4 separate regions of the Homo sapiens genome follow, and regions 2, 3 and 4 are each linked to region 1. The links are contacts of gene promoters, found by promoter capture Hi-C in blood cells and fetal thymus (Javierre and others, 2016). All regions are on one chromosome and are shown on one strand. The core of a region is centred on a gene start or on the middle of the fragment in contact, and the rest is flanking DNA. Distances in the headings are between cores, read along the strand shown.

The links. Contacts are between HindIII fragments. The CHiCAGO score rates a contact against its expected background, and 5 or more counts as called.
Region 2: a fragment that was not itself captured here is called in contact with the fragment with the promoter of FH in region 1 in 2 of 17 cell types (total CD4 T cells and total CD8 T cells); the score reaches 8.3 in total CD4 T cells.
Region 3: a contact is called between a fragment that was not itself captured here and the fragment with the promoter of FH in region 1, in 1 of 17 cell types (total CD4 T cells). The highest score is 5.0, in total CD4 T cells.
Region 4: a contact is called between a fragment that was not itself captured here and the fragment with the promoter of FH in region 1, in 3 of 17 cell types (total CD4 T cells, non-activated CD4 T cells and fetal thymus). The highest score is 8.9, in total CD4 T cells.

Annotation. Positions count from the first base shown.
Region 1 is chr1:241,518,253-241,521,740 of GRCh38, forward strand. FH (fumarate hydratase) reads right to left here and starts at 1,503. Exons shown (of 10, transcript NM_000143.4): 1 at 1,339-1,503. The coding sequence starts at 1,470. RefSeq lists silencers at 938-1,207, 1,383-1,665, 1,488-1,617 and an enhancer at 1,281-1,877. The HindIII fragment of the contact is 3,380 bases long and covers 519-3,488 here.
Region 2 is chr1:244,857,712-244,860,211 of GRCh38, forward strand. It overlaps HNRNPU (heterogeneous nuclear ribonucleoprotein U), which reads right to left. Exons shown (of 14, transcript NM_031844.3): 5 at 1,564-1,663; 6 at 1,018-1,130; 7 at 300-563; 8 at 1-6. Among named protein-coding and RNA genes, the nearest start is that of SNORA100, 4.7 kb to the left of the region's middle. The HindIII fragment of the contact is 609 bases long and covers 947-1,555 here.
Region 3 is chr1:244,836,099-244,839,586 of GRCh38, forward strand. The region is part of intron 1 of COX20 (cytochrome c oxidase assembly factor COX20); the gene reads left to right. Among named protein-coding and RNA genes, the nearest start is that of COX20, 2.2 kb to the left of the region's middle. The HindIII fragment of the contact is 1,385 bases long and covers 854-2,238 here.
Region 4 is chr1:244,655,315-244,658,802 of GRCh38, forward strand. All of the region lies in intron 1 of DESI2 (desumoylating isopeptidase 2), which reads left to right. Among named protein-coding and RNA genes, the nearest start is that of DESI2, 3.9 kb to the left of the region's middle. The HindIII fragment of the contact is 7,268 bases long and covers 1-3,488 here.

The sequences.
Region 1 (3,488 bases), core at 253-2,752:
CCTCCATCTGATTTTAGCTAACATTACAATTCTAAGAGCAAAGTAGTGCTGCTATTTTTTGACATTTGCATCAACAGGATAGATTCAGAAGTTCTCCAGTCTGCTTCCCTTTACAAAACACTAAATAAACAATAAATAAATTTAAAAATATGTAAAGGTTTTAAAATGCCCTAAAATTATTCGAGCAGGGAGTTCGAGGAATACAAAACATCTCTGATTCTGTAGTATAGTTGTATATCGTAGGTATAGTGACCCAATCAAATTATCTTGAAGTTTAGAGTCCAGAAAAAGTACTGGCCCTTTGAAATACCCTAGATGGGGCACTTATTTAATGAGCACTCGCTACATGGTATTTTCACATGTGCAGTTTTGCTGAGTAGCTGTAAGTATTTCAACTTTGCATACGGATTTGAAATCACATCTCTTAGATTGCAAACCTCATGCTACACCAGTGCAGAACTGTAACTCTTCAACTATCATTTCTCAAACGTTTCCTAACAATATACATATGTATTTAAAGCTTTTTAAAAGCCTGCATTCCTAAAGATGACACTCTAAAGAGCAAAATGACTTACGTAAGCATGTCATAACCTGAACTTGGATCTTTAAGTTCTTAGCTGGCTTTCTGAATAAAAAGTACCGATTCAGCTCCTAGCCAATCTGCTCAAACATGCTTCAGAACACTATGCCCGCGGTATTCGGAATTGAAGAGTTTTACAACAATTACGGGGGAAACCATAGTCAGCCTAACAAACTGAGCATGCAATTTCAAAGGAAGTAAAATCTTCGAAGAACCTTCTACCCCACCTGGAGGGCCTGAAAGCAGTGCAGTGCCCCTTGGCGAAACAAACCACAGTTCAGAAACCACTAGATGCACAGGCGGCCAGTGTCCGGCCAGCAAGGCCCAGCTATGGGGCAGGACGGTGCGGGAGCTGCCCCTCTCCCAGCACCCTCCGCCCACGCCGGCACTGTCCTTGAGGGCAGCGCCCCGGGGCTGGGGGCCTGCGCGCCAGCAGCAGCGAAGTTACCTCAAAACGCCCCGGCCTCGGCCCGCCACGGACGGCTCCGAGGAGGCGCCGGGAGCGGGCCCAGTAGGACCCTCTCTGACAGCCCCCGTCCCTCCCCAAGCGCTCTCCCGGGCTGCGGCTCCATCCCTGCGCCGGAAGAGGCGTCCCGAGGCCGGGAGGCCCGCCACGCCGGCACGGGCGCTAAGCCCAGAGTCTGGCGCGGCCCGGACGCCCGGGGAATCTCTCCCGCCAAGTCGCGGGCGCCCAGGCCGGCAGGCAGGAGGGCTGAAGGTCACTGCGGGGAGGCCGGGGGATGGCGGCCTGCGCTCACCATTCGAGCCGCGTTCGGAGGCCAAAACGAGGGCACGGCCGCGCCACCCAAGCCGGGAGCCGAAGCTAAGGCTGCGGCTGGAGCCCGCACGAGGGGACGCGAGCGCGCGAGGAGCCGAAGTGCTCGGTACATGGTGCTGAGGGAGCTTGGGTAGAATTTCTGGGCGGCTGTGGCCACGCCTCCACGCCGGTTGTCAGAAACCGTTCCGCCCACCGGCCTCCGCTCTTATCCAATCAACAGCCTCACACCGACAGGTGGGGCAGGACCAATCGTGAATGACCAGTAAAGAATGAGGGGGCGGGTTAACTTTCTAGTAGTAGTGTGGGGTGTAAGGCCTTCGGATTCATGGGAAACTAGAAAGAAGGGAATTATGGGAAAGGAGGCTCAGGTTATTCTTGGAGCCGGTCTGATTTTTACGTGTGGCTGTTAGAAGGCGGGAGTATTAGTTGGTGAATCAGGTCGTGTTTGGTTGGTGAAATATCCTAGAAAGAAATATTTATTGTTTTATTTATCATGTAATCACTCATTACACGTTCTTACTACTGAAATCTTTCTTCATTTCTTCCAGATTGTATCTTCTGTGTAGAAATTTTGGGAAGTGCAGCAAAGTGTAGATAATGAAATAGTAATTATTCATAATCCCACAACTGAAAAATAAGCTACTTACTTATTTCTTTTAACTTATCATTTTGAGATCGCTACCGTTTCCTTTCTCTTCTTAGCCTATACCCTCAGAACTCTTTTTTTTTTTTTAATGTATTGTGGAAGACGTACACAATTATAGGGAACCTCGGAATTTTTATTATTTGTATATCGTTCTCCCAGTTTTTTGCATAGCTAATTTATACATTTTCAAATTAAAGGCATATTGTTTTAATATAATAGTTGATTACAGAAAAGCAGGAATTGATATAAAATTGCATCTGAACCACAGTTTTATCTTTTCTCTTTTCTATTGCTTGGAACCAGATGACAGTAAAGAGAGAGCGATCGGATGTTCTTAAAATCAAAAGTCCAGAACCTGCAAAGCCAAATTTATGAGTCAAACTTACAAACTTGCCAAACCTTTTGGTAACATTATGTTATTTTGTGACTTATAAATTTGACACATATTTAAAATATAAAAATTCAAATGAGATTGTAATAGTTGAACTACAATCAAAACACACTAGAAAACTGAATGCAAATTCTTTAAAACATTGCTAATAATGGAATGACGTTTTGTTTTTGTTCTCCTCCTTCCCAGCAGGTATCATTATTGTGTATATCATTATTTTGATGCATCCTTTCAGTTCTGTGTATTTTTTGCTTCATACACTAATATACAAACAATGGTTTTAATATTTTACTTTAAAGTTTTACTGTTGCATAATTGAACTCTATGCTTTTAAGATATAGCCATGATCTTTTAAAATTAATCATATTGGATCACATGAATATGAAATATTTTATTTATCCAGTTTCTTAATAAAGAACATTTTTCTTTGCTATTACACAAAATTATTTAATGAACATATGTTTATCATTTCTTCATAGATCATCTCTTTCTTCATTGTGTGGTGCCCCTCTTTATTGTTATTGTTGCTTGTCCTTTTAAACTTTTTTTAATATTGATATTTCTCTACCAATTTCATATTGGCTATTATTTGCCTGCTGTATATTTCTCATTTTATTTTATTTTTTGTTTCATTTTTGTTTCGAGCATGTCTCTTATTTCTACCATACAGTTTAACTTTTCAAAACCCAAATTAATAGCCTTTTTATAAATAGGTTATTTTAATCCCTTTTAAAAATTACCTATGACACATATTATGTTCTAGAATTTTTCAAAGCACTTTATATGTATTAATTCTTGGAACACTCAAAAACAACCCTATGAGATAGGTCCTATTATTATTCCTGTACATAGAAGAGAAAAATTGATGCCCAGGAACATCCACATATTTATTTGTGTGTTTTACTTCGATTTATTAGTGAAACTGATTTTCTATCTGCAGTAGTAATATGAAGTTCCATTTTTAATTATTCATTTTATTTGAAGTAAAATATTCAGTATAATATGAAGATGCTATATAAATGACTAAAATTTAGGAAATATTAACTTAGCTAATTTATTTTTATTAATTCGTAATAAAACGTACATAAAGCCT
Region 2 (2,500 bases), core at 1-2,500, 3.3 Mb after region 1:
CACAACCTAGTGAAAAGAAAAGAAATGTCATTTCACTGTCAGTAGACACCACCTAATAATTCTTTAAATATTGTTAAGGCCAATTTAAATATCTAAGTTTTCATAGCCCTTACACTAACGGACAAAAATTTGTTTATGGAAAGATTAACAGTCAACATAAGGGGGAAACAATTACTTAAGAGCAATATGCACAGCACAAAGTAAATGAAACAGACTAATCATCTAGTTCTTCTAAATGTCATTTTGTGCCAGGCAAGCAATATTCAAATGCCACAGTTAAAAAAAAAAAAATCCCTTACTTCACAATCTTTCTTCTCTTCAGGCCCCTTTGGTCCTCTAACTCGATCCTCTAAGGGGACGTTCTGGATGAAAGTATACTCTTCAGGTATTGGAAAATATGGCTTTTCCTTCTGACCAAAATTAAATTCAACTGCACAGTTGTGGCAGAGAACATGCGGGAACAGTGGCCGTCCAGCAAGAACTTCCTTACTGATTTTGAAGGCAACGCCAAGATCTTGTCCATTCTTAGCATACGAGAGTTCTACTTCATCACTTTCAAAGTTCTGTTACACAGAAAAAAATTCAACAGTTAAAATCTGCTTCCTTAAACTTTCTAAAAAACTAAGAATTAAAATTAGGAGCAAAGCTTATCCTGTGGAAGCTACAGGTTAAAGAACTATTAGGTGGCCTTTAAGGGCTACACAGTTAAGAAATCTGATGGTTGTAAACCATGAAGCACGTATCTCCAGAACCAGAAACAATACTGACCTAGAAGCTAGACTGAATTTTCTAGGTCAATTTCATGTTCACTGTTTTCAGTCAAAATGAATTAGTGAGTTCCTCAAAAATGTCCTGTGTTTTCCCAATTCAACTGCTGAATGAAGTCTTTACACTAATCCAGGGACTGGTGTATTTTGTTGCTCATATTGAAAACTGACCTCAGTAAAGCTTCTTTAAAGTTCCTAGATATAGCTACTAACTTTGCCATTTATACATAGAAAGTTAGCTTTAACTTACAGCAAAACATGTAATCACATCATTTTCATCAAACTTTTCTCCATAATCTTCAGTCTCACAGTTGCATGTTTTTATTCCTTTTAGAGAATACCCATAAGAAAATTCTTCTTCACCTAAGAAAATAATTAATCTTCATGAAGTAGATGTTTAAAATAGTCCAAAGACTCATCTATTTTACTACTTAAGATGTAGGCTACAAGAGAAATAAGCATATAACCTAATCACCTGTCACTGACACTATTACTTTTCTATCTCTGTACCAGAATTGATGGAAGTTAGGAGGGATATATACGCAGAGACCAAATTAGTTGACGATTTGCATATCACGGGTAAGATTTTATTTCAACCATTGGTCATAAACTTCTAATAAAGGAACAAAAACTAAAATGTAGCCTGTGCCTACTATGTGCTAATATTACCTGTCTGAAGTATTAACAGAATAGATAAAAACAGACAAAAGGCTTAGAATGCCCTCTAGTTAAAAAACACTGAAATCAGACCCTCCTGAACATTCATGAGCCCACATCAGTCAAAAAGAAGCTTTACCAAGTAACATTCCACTTGTAGTTAGTGACCAGCCAATACGAACTTCATGTATGTCAATATCTTTTGTATATAAATGCCTTACTGGGATCTTCTCTGTAACCTGAAAGTCAAATCATTAAATAATTAAAATAATACACCAAGGAGGTAACCCCTTAACTCTCGCATATTTCATTGCGCCACGGGCTAATCTTCCTCTAGCTATAAATACAAAGAAGGCACACTCTAGCCCACCCCCAATATTTGTAAGAACTTTAAACTGATGTGCTTATAACTTGAAATTTAAAGAGTTAAATACTTATTTGACCCATATTTAAAAGAATACTTAATATTTTTAAAGTTCATGTTGTCAGTCTTTAACTTAAAGCCAATTAAAGGATACAATTAATGTTTTTCTCACCAACAAAAGCAGTAATGTAACCAAATTTTATTTTTAACTCTTTGGTGGCCCTTTCAAATGCTTGATAAAAATGAAGTACCCTAAATAAAAAATCGCCTAGCTCTGCATGGCAAGTTCTAACATAACAACCGTGATTAACTGTCACAACAAAATGAAGGTTCCAAGCTCCTCTTTTAATTTACAGGAAGCTTCAAAAATAAGTACCTTTGATAACTTAGCAGTATGAAGCACCTGTAATTCCAGCATTCTGAGAGGCTCAGGCGGGCAGATCACTTGAGCTTAGGAGTTCAAGACCAGCCTGGGCAACATGGTGAGACCTTGTCACTATTTTAAAAAGGAAAAAAAAAGGCTGGGCACAGTGGCTCATGCCTGTAATCCCAGCACTTTGGGACGCCGAGACAGTGGATCACCTGAGGTCAAGAGTTGGCGACCAGCCTGGCCTACGTGGTGAAACCCCATCTCTATTAAAAATACAAAAATTAGCCAGGTGTGGTAGTGTGTGCCTCTAGTCCGAGCTACTTGAGAGACTGAAGCAAGGAG
Region 3 (3,488 bases), core at 296-2,795, 3.3 Mb after region 1:
AAGCTCCGTTGAGGACAGGTGCCTTGTCTTTAACACGTTGTATTCATCACATTTAACATAGGAGTAATTGCTGAGGGATGACTTGATTGTACTACGATGAGATGAAGGGTTAAGATTTCTTCCCCATCACCAGTAGCCTCCCTAGCTGGTGTCCCTGTCTCCATACTCTCCTGAATCCACCTTCCACTATTGTCCGCTGGCCCTTTCCAGCCTGTAAACTGGACAGTTTTCATTCCTCTGCCTAACATCCAGTCGTAGCAGCCCATCCTATCTCTTTAAGGATAAAACCCAAATTCTTGGTATAGTAAAGCTAAACCAAGCGCTCTCCCTGGAAGGGCTCCTGTGTTTCACCAAAGCTGACTTACGTACTTTCCCCATCTTCCCAGGCATCTTGTACGTCGTTACATTTATCATATTGGAAGGTAATAAATGATCTTGTTTTCCTCTTTTCCTGGGCTCCTTATTAAGAGCAGGGAACCTAATTTATATCCTCAGGGCAGAACAGGTATTCAGAAAAGAATAATGCAAGAGGAAAAAAGTTTAATATAAACTAGGGAGATCGTAACATTGGCTAATCACGAGCAAATATTTATAGAAGACCCACTGTGTGCTAAATGGCTCCTAATATATACTTAAGATATTCTCCCAGCTTGGAAATTCTGCTCACTTCTTGCTCTTGCTTGCTTCTCTGGTGGGCTTCCATCCAAATTTGGCCATGACATCAGATCATATGGTTAATATTAACAAATATTGTATAAATTGTTTTCATACTTAATATCCAACAGGTTGTCAGTTTACGTACTACTGGTGCCTTATCTGTTTTTACTGTCCCATACACTGCCCATCTGGAATAAGCTTAGTGTTTAAAAAAAAAAAAAGATCTTTGCATACACACAGTAAATCCTAGATTCAGTTTTGTGATAAACACTGGAATCCTGAATGGGACTTTTGGTAGGAGATAACTGCTGTTTTTAAAGGTCATAAAGGTGGTTTAATCCATTGGAAATTAAAAAAAAAAAACTTAAAAGAGGATCAACATTGACCTATTTAACTGGCCCATCAGTAAGTAGCAAAACAATACTGTAGTTGTTGAAATGAAGATAGTTATAAGCCTCAAACCGAGCACAGTCAGAGGTGGGAGGCCAAAAAAACAAAAATTGCTCATGAAACAGTAGTACCTATCAGAGCCCATCAAAAAGCTAATTAAATTAATAGAAGCTATGATGAATTAACAGCCCAAGGTGCTGTCAGAAAGGAAGCCTGCGGTTATTTTTTTTAAAAGAATTTGTCAGTGATCATTCCAGCACAACCCAGGGAGGATTATTTTATTATAAGAATTAGCAAACCTAAAGTAAAAATGGGAGTTACCAAGCTGGCATACCTTGATAGAACTAGCCCCTAAAAACTGTCCTCTGCCACATTCTTGTCCTTTAAGAAACTTTAAAATGTGAAATTTGGTACATACAGGTAAATTCACATTCAGGTAAATTCTTAATTCACCCATTCAAAAAATATTTAGAGTACCTACTGAGTATTAGACACTGAACGAGGTACTAGACTGATCAAGACAGGAAAAATCCCTTTAAGGAGCTGACATTCTACTGGAGGAATCAATAAGCAAGACTTCTACTGAGCCAGTCATGCAAAGATCCAGGAGAAAGGCAGCATGTGTTCGTTCGGTAATAACCATCTCGGCTTGTTAGAATGGCAAGGCCACTGTACCTGGACTAGTGGACAAGAGTAGGATATGAAAGAGCATGGGATCATGTAGGGCCTTTGGAGCAATGGTAAGGATTCTGAGCATAATCGGAGGCTACAGAGGACTTATTATAGTCATCTGATACACATTTTTATGAGTAGAATCAAGATCTGAAAGGTACTGTTGATAGATGGTAATTTGATAGGACAGGTTGAGCTTCCCAATTCAAAAAAAAAATTGTCTTTTGATGTATCAGTTTCAGATTTGGGATGCTCAACCTGTATTAGCAATGAAGTTGGTGGGCAGTGGTCTGGCTCAGGATGTATTTAGAATGTGGATCCTTCCAGACTTGCTAATATATTTGATGTGGATTTGATGAAGGAATCAAGGATGACTCTTAGTTTTTGGGTCTGAAAATTGGTTGAGTAGTGTGCCATTAAGAGGAAGGTTTGGAGGTGAAAATATATTTTGCAAATACGAGGTTCAAGGTGCTTTTTATACATAAAAGTGTCATTCATTAAGCAGATGAATGAGGCTGAAGCTTGGGAGAGATTAGGGTTTGATTTAGAAATCTGGAGTCATCATATAATGGCATTTAATTGAAAGCCTTGGGATACCTAGGAAGAGACTAGATTCCAAAGGAGTTAAGAGTGGCACTTCAGAATCAGGTCTGTAGAGGAGGGAACAGCAACAAAAATGTCAATGAAATAGAAAACCAGGAGACGTATTTGAAGCCAAGTAAAAGTAAAAAAGTTTCAAAAACAAATGATAATTTGTGCCACATATGCTGAGATGCGGATTTAGACTGCAGTGGATGTCTTTTAGAGGTCTTGACTGGTGTCAAGTGAAGTTCAGTGGATAGATGCCTCACTCAAGTGAGTTAAAGGGAGAATGGGAGGTTTTAAGTAGAAAAGCACACCTACACTCAGAAGTTTTGCCCCAAAAGGATGGTGGTTTAGGTGGCTGATGAGAGGAGAGGGGTGTATAGAGGATTTTTGGGTTTTTTTTTTGAGATGGAGTCTTCTTGCTCTGTTGCCCAGGCTGGAGTGCAGTGGTGCCATCTTGGCTCACTGCAACCTCCGCCTCCTGGGCTCAAGCGATTCTGCCTCAGCCTCCCGAGTAGCTGGGATTACAGGCATGTGCTACCATTCCTGGCTAATTTTTGTACTTTTAGTAGAGACAGGGTTTTGCCATGTTGGCCAGGCTGGTCTCGAACTTCCGACCTCAAGTGATCCACCCACTTTGGCCTCCCAAAGTGCTGGGATGACGGGTGAGCCACTGCACCTGGCCAAGAGGGCTGATAGTAAATTATTGCAAGTGAAAAAACTAACGATGCAAATGAAAGGGGTAGCTATAGAAGCCAAGCCCTTGAGTATGCAAGAGGGGAATCAAGTGCCCAAGTGGGAAGACTAGCATTAGATAGGAATAGGGCCAATTCATCCTTTGCAACCAGAGGAAAGAAATACGGGCACTGAAGCAGATTTAGTGGTGGAAAATCAACTGTCTCTAATTTGATCAGATCTATTTCTATACATTATTGACATTCTGGCTTGGAAATCTCTTGAGCTTTCCTTAGATTGATCAGGGTGAGCTGGTAAAGCTGCTTTTCTAAATCTAAGCTTAAAAAATGTCTGACATTTCCTTAATTTATTTTTAAGGGTTCCCGTTTGTTAGTGGCAAAGAGTTAAATCTTAAGTATGCAGGCTACTTAAGGAATAGAAGAGAAATGTTAAAGGCATGTATATTATGAACAGAATATTTCCGTATATAAATAGAATACTTCAAAGGG
Region 4 (3,488 bases), core at 742-3,241, 3.1 Mb after region 1:
CTACTAATTCCTGCACTTATGTCTTTATATTGCTTTTGCCTGTGAACAGGAGATGAAGCATATGAATGTTTATCGGAATGATAAATAGTTGAATTATTAGACTTTTAATAAACTTGGTCTTATATGTTCTTTTGAGGGCTTTGAGTGTTTTATGTCACTAATTCAGCAACCTACCATTACTTATTATTTTTGACCTGGTAGAAGCCACAAGGATGAGTTAACTGTCCTTTCTTCTTTAAGGAATTTAGAGTATTGTAGAGGAGATACACAACAGTGGCAACAATTCAAGACAGAATAGCATGGTTTTGATAAGAGCAGACAAGGATGCAAAGGAGGAGACTATGTAGTTGTAGGATCAGGGAATGCTGAAAAATCAAAGGTATGAAACTTGAAGAATGGGTAGCATCCACAAGGACAGAGAACAATTGACGTGAACAAAATGGCAGGAATAGGGAAAGCGCAGGTGGGATTTGGGAACTATCAGCTGGTCCAGTATAACTAGAGTAGAGCATAAATGAAAGGAGACAAAACTGAAAGTTTGATTAGAACTTCTTTAGTCAGATGTGTTGTGGGCTTGGGTGAAGGGCTGAGGGGGCTCCTTGAGCCAGCAGAACCATTTAAGGTTTTCATGGAGGGGAACAGTGTGATCAGTTGTTTAGATTGAGATACAAATTTTGGTCTGTTATACTAATTTTTCTCAAGTCAGTTTTGGTTTTTGAAATATTTTTGTTTGATGCCAAGGGTAAATTCCTTTTATCTTTGGTAATTCTTCCTATTCATCAGAGATGCTTTGGATGAGGGTTGCTGTTGTCTGTATAGGCCTAGTACATCAGCTGTCTGGTTCCAACTCTGTAAATATGAAAATCAACCTTAGGGATGCCCTTATAATCATGGTTATAGGGACCTCTTGCCATGTGTCCTTGTGTCTCTTTGTTAGATTGTCACCCGTTCCAGTTCTGATTGTATTTTTCTATTTTCTAGATTGGGCTGCTGCGGATCATTTCTTTTCTTCCATAACTCTGCCGTATGCATGAAAATAATTCTATTGGGGGTCACCAGTATTAACTTCCTTCTCATGGAAGAAGAGTGTGATCCTCAGAAGGTTACTTAATTATGCATAGTGTTCCTATTGCTTGCTGCCTTATCAGTGATTATGTTCCTCTGTGTACTTTGGAGTAATCTACCACCAATAAAAACGTCCTGGAGCTACTTTCTGAGTCGTGGGAATGAGCTTGTTCACGTATTCCTAATTGACTGGCACACATAGCAAAGCAGGTGACTCAGATTAGTTTCAAATACTGAGACAAATCTCTGGTGTAGTCATTTTAAGTCTTCATTTTTCATAGATCCAGATTTTGTGCTTTTCAGGTTATCTTGACTAATGAATTTTTATAAAATAAAAATATGCAGGTATTTGATAATGTTTGCAAATTCATTGTGTTAACAAGTTTCTACCAGTTTTATTTATTTATTTTATTTATTTGTTTTCTCACTCTGTCACCCAGGCTGGAGTGCAGTGGTGCGATCTCGGCTCACAGCAACCTCTGCCTCCCCAGTTCAAGTGATTCTCCCGCCTCAGCCTGCCAAGTAGCTGGGATTACAGGCACCTGCCATCATGCCCGGCTAATTTTTGTATTTTTGTAGAGGTGGGTTTCACCATGTTGGCTAGGCTTTTCTCAAATTCCTGTCCTCAAGTGATCCGCCCGCCTCAGCGTCCCAAAGTTCTGGGATTATAGGCATGAGCCACTGTGCCCAGCCAGTACCAATTTTATTATAAAGTAGTACCTATACATCTTCAAAGTCTTTAAAGAATAGAAAAGAACCACTTTCTAGGACACTTCAAATAAGGACATTTTTGTCTGGACTCCGTTCTTTTGACGCCTGTCTCCATTAGACTCCTCCAACAGGGTGTCAGGTCAGGCAGGTGTGATAGATCCGATTTCTCATACATCTGCAGATCTAATTCAGACTTTTTGAACAAGTTCCAGAATCACACATCCCACCTAAATGGTTCCTTCGTATCTCAAATCAACATGTCCAGGAACAAACTTCTTCCCTTTCCTCCTGTCCACAGCGCACATTCTTCCTCTTGCCCCATGCCACTGCCCAAAAAGCCACCACTTTTGTTGTAGTTTCCCAAACCGGAAACCTGGGAGTAAACTTAAATTCTTCTTTATTATAAACCCTTCACAGTCAGTCAGCTGGCCCTGTCTCTTTGTTTTAGTTTGGTTGATTCTGTCTGAAAGCAACAGAGAGCTTGAGAGTCAGTGGCTTAAGCTGGAAGGATACTTAAGTCCAGAGATAAACAGGCCCTGGATTAGTTCAGCAGCTCAGCTGTGCCATCAAGAACCAGGACTTTCCATCCTTTTACTCTACCATCCTCAGCACGTTGGCTGTTGCCCTTGGTTCGTCCTCTCATAATTGTAAAGTAACTGCCATAAGCACCAAATAGTATCCTCAGTCAGCAGTATGTGAAGGAAGATGGAAGAAGATAGGGTCATTTTCTACATGCACCTCTGTTCTTTTAATAGAAAGGAAAAACTTACCAGAGCCCCACTCCTTCCCCGAAGAGATTATCTAGAATTGGCTCGTGTGCAACTGTGATGAAGCTGAGTAAGTGGATATCTGGTGTTTCTAACCTTTATGGTGAGTTGTGGGTGAGGAAGGCAAAAAGTTGGAAATGGCAGTTTGATGGGAACCTATGATGTCTGTCACATATTTTACTTTCTGGATATTATTTAAATCGGTTACTTTATCCCCATTTCCACTAATGCTTCTCAAGTTCAGGCCCTCATCTCTATTCATATAATAGCCTCCTTACGAGTTTCAGTCTCTAGTATTACTTCATTTTAATCCTTCCTCCATTCTGTTACCAAAGTAACCTTTCTGAAACATAACCAGGATAAAGTGTAATGCACTTTATGATGTGGCCCCTGGCTGACAGTTAAAGGTCCATTTCCCTCTTCTATATAACAGTCTTTATTCTCACACAGTGAAATTTTTTAGCTGTCCAAACAGGCTATATCACATCCCCATATCTTTATGCATGCCCATCCTTCTGTCTGGAGTGGCATTGTCCAGCATTGATCACCTGCAACCTCCTGCTTGCTCCTTCTGGCTGTAGCTTAGTCTTTATTCCTGAGACTTGAGTGAACTCCTATGCCCTAGTTGTGCTTCGTGCCTGTCTCCATTACTGCGTATACTATCCCGTGCATCCCACCAGACTGTGAGTTCTCCGATAGCGCCATACTATGACCAGTGTCTAGAACAGGGCCTGTCACTAGATGGTGTTCTAGAAATATCCGCTCAATGAGTGGGGCTTTAGCTGGTTTTTATTAGGAGAGTTGCCAGTAACTTAAATGGCATGAAAAGATCATGTGATCTTCCTCTTTGTGCCAAATGCCTATTTCTGGTGTTTTTTTCTTGTACCTTTGCTTAAGTGCATTGCTAGATTTTAGCTTTGATTGTTGGACTAGGGTGTCCAGATG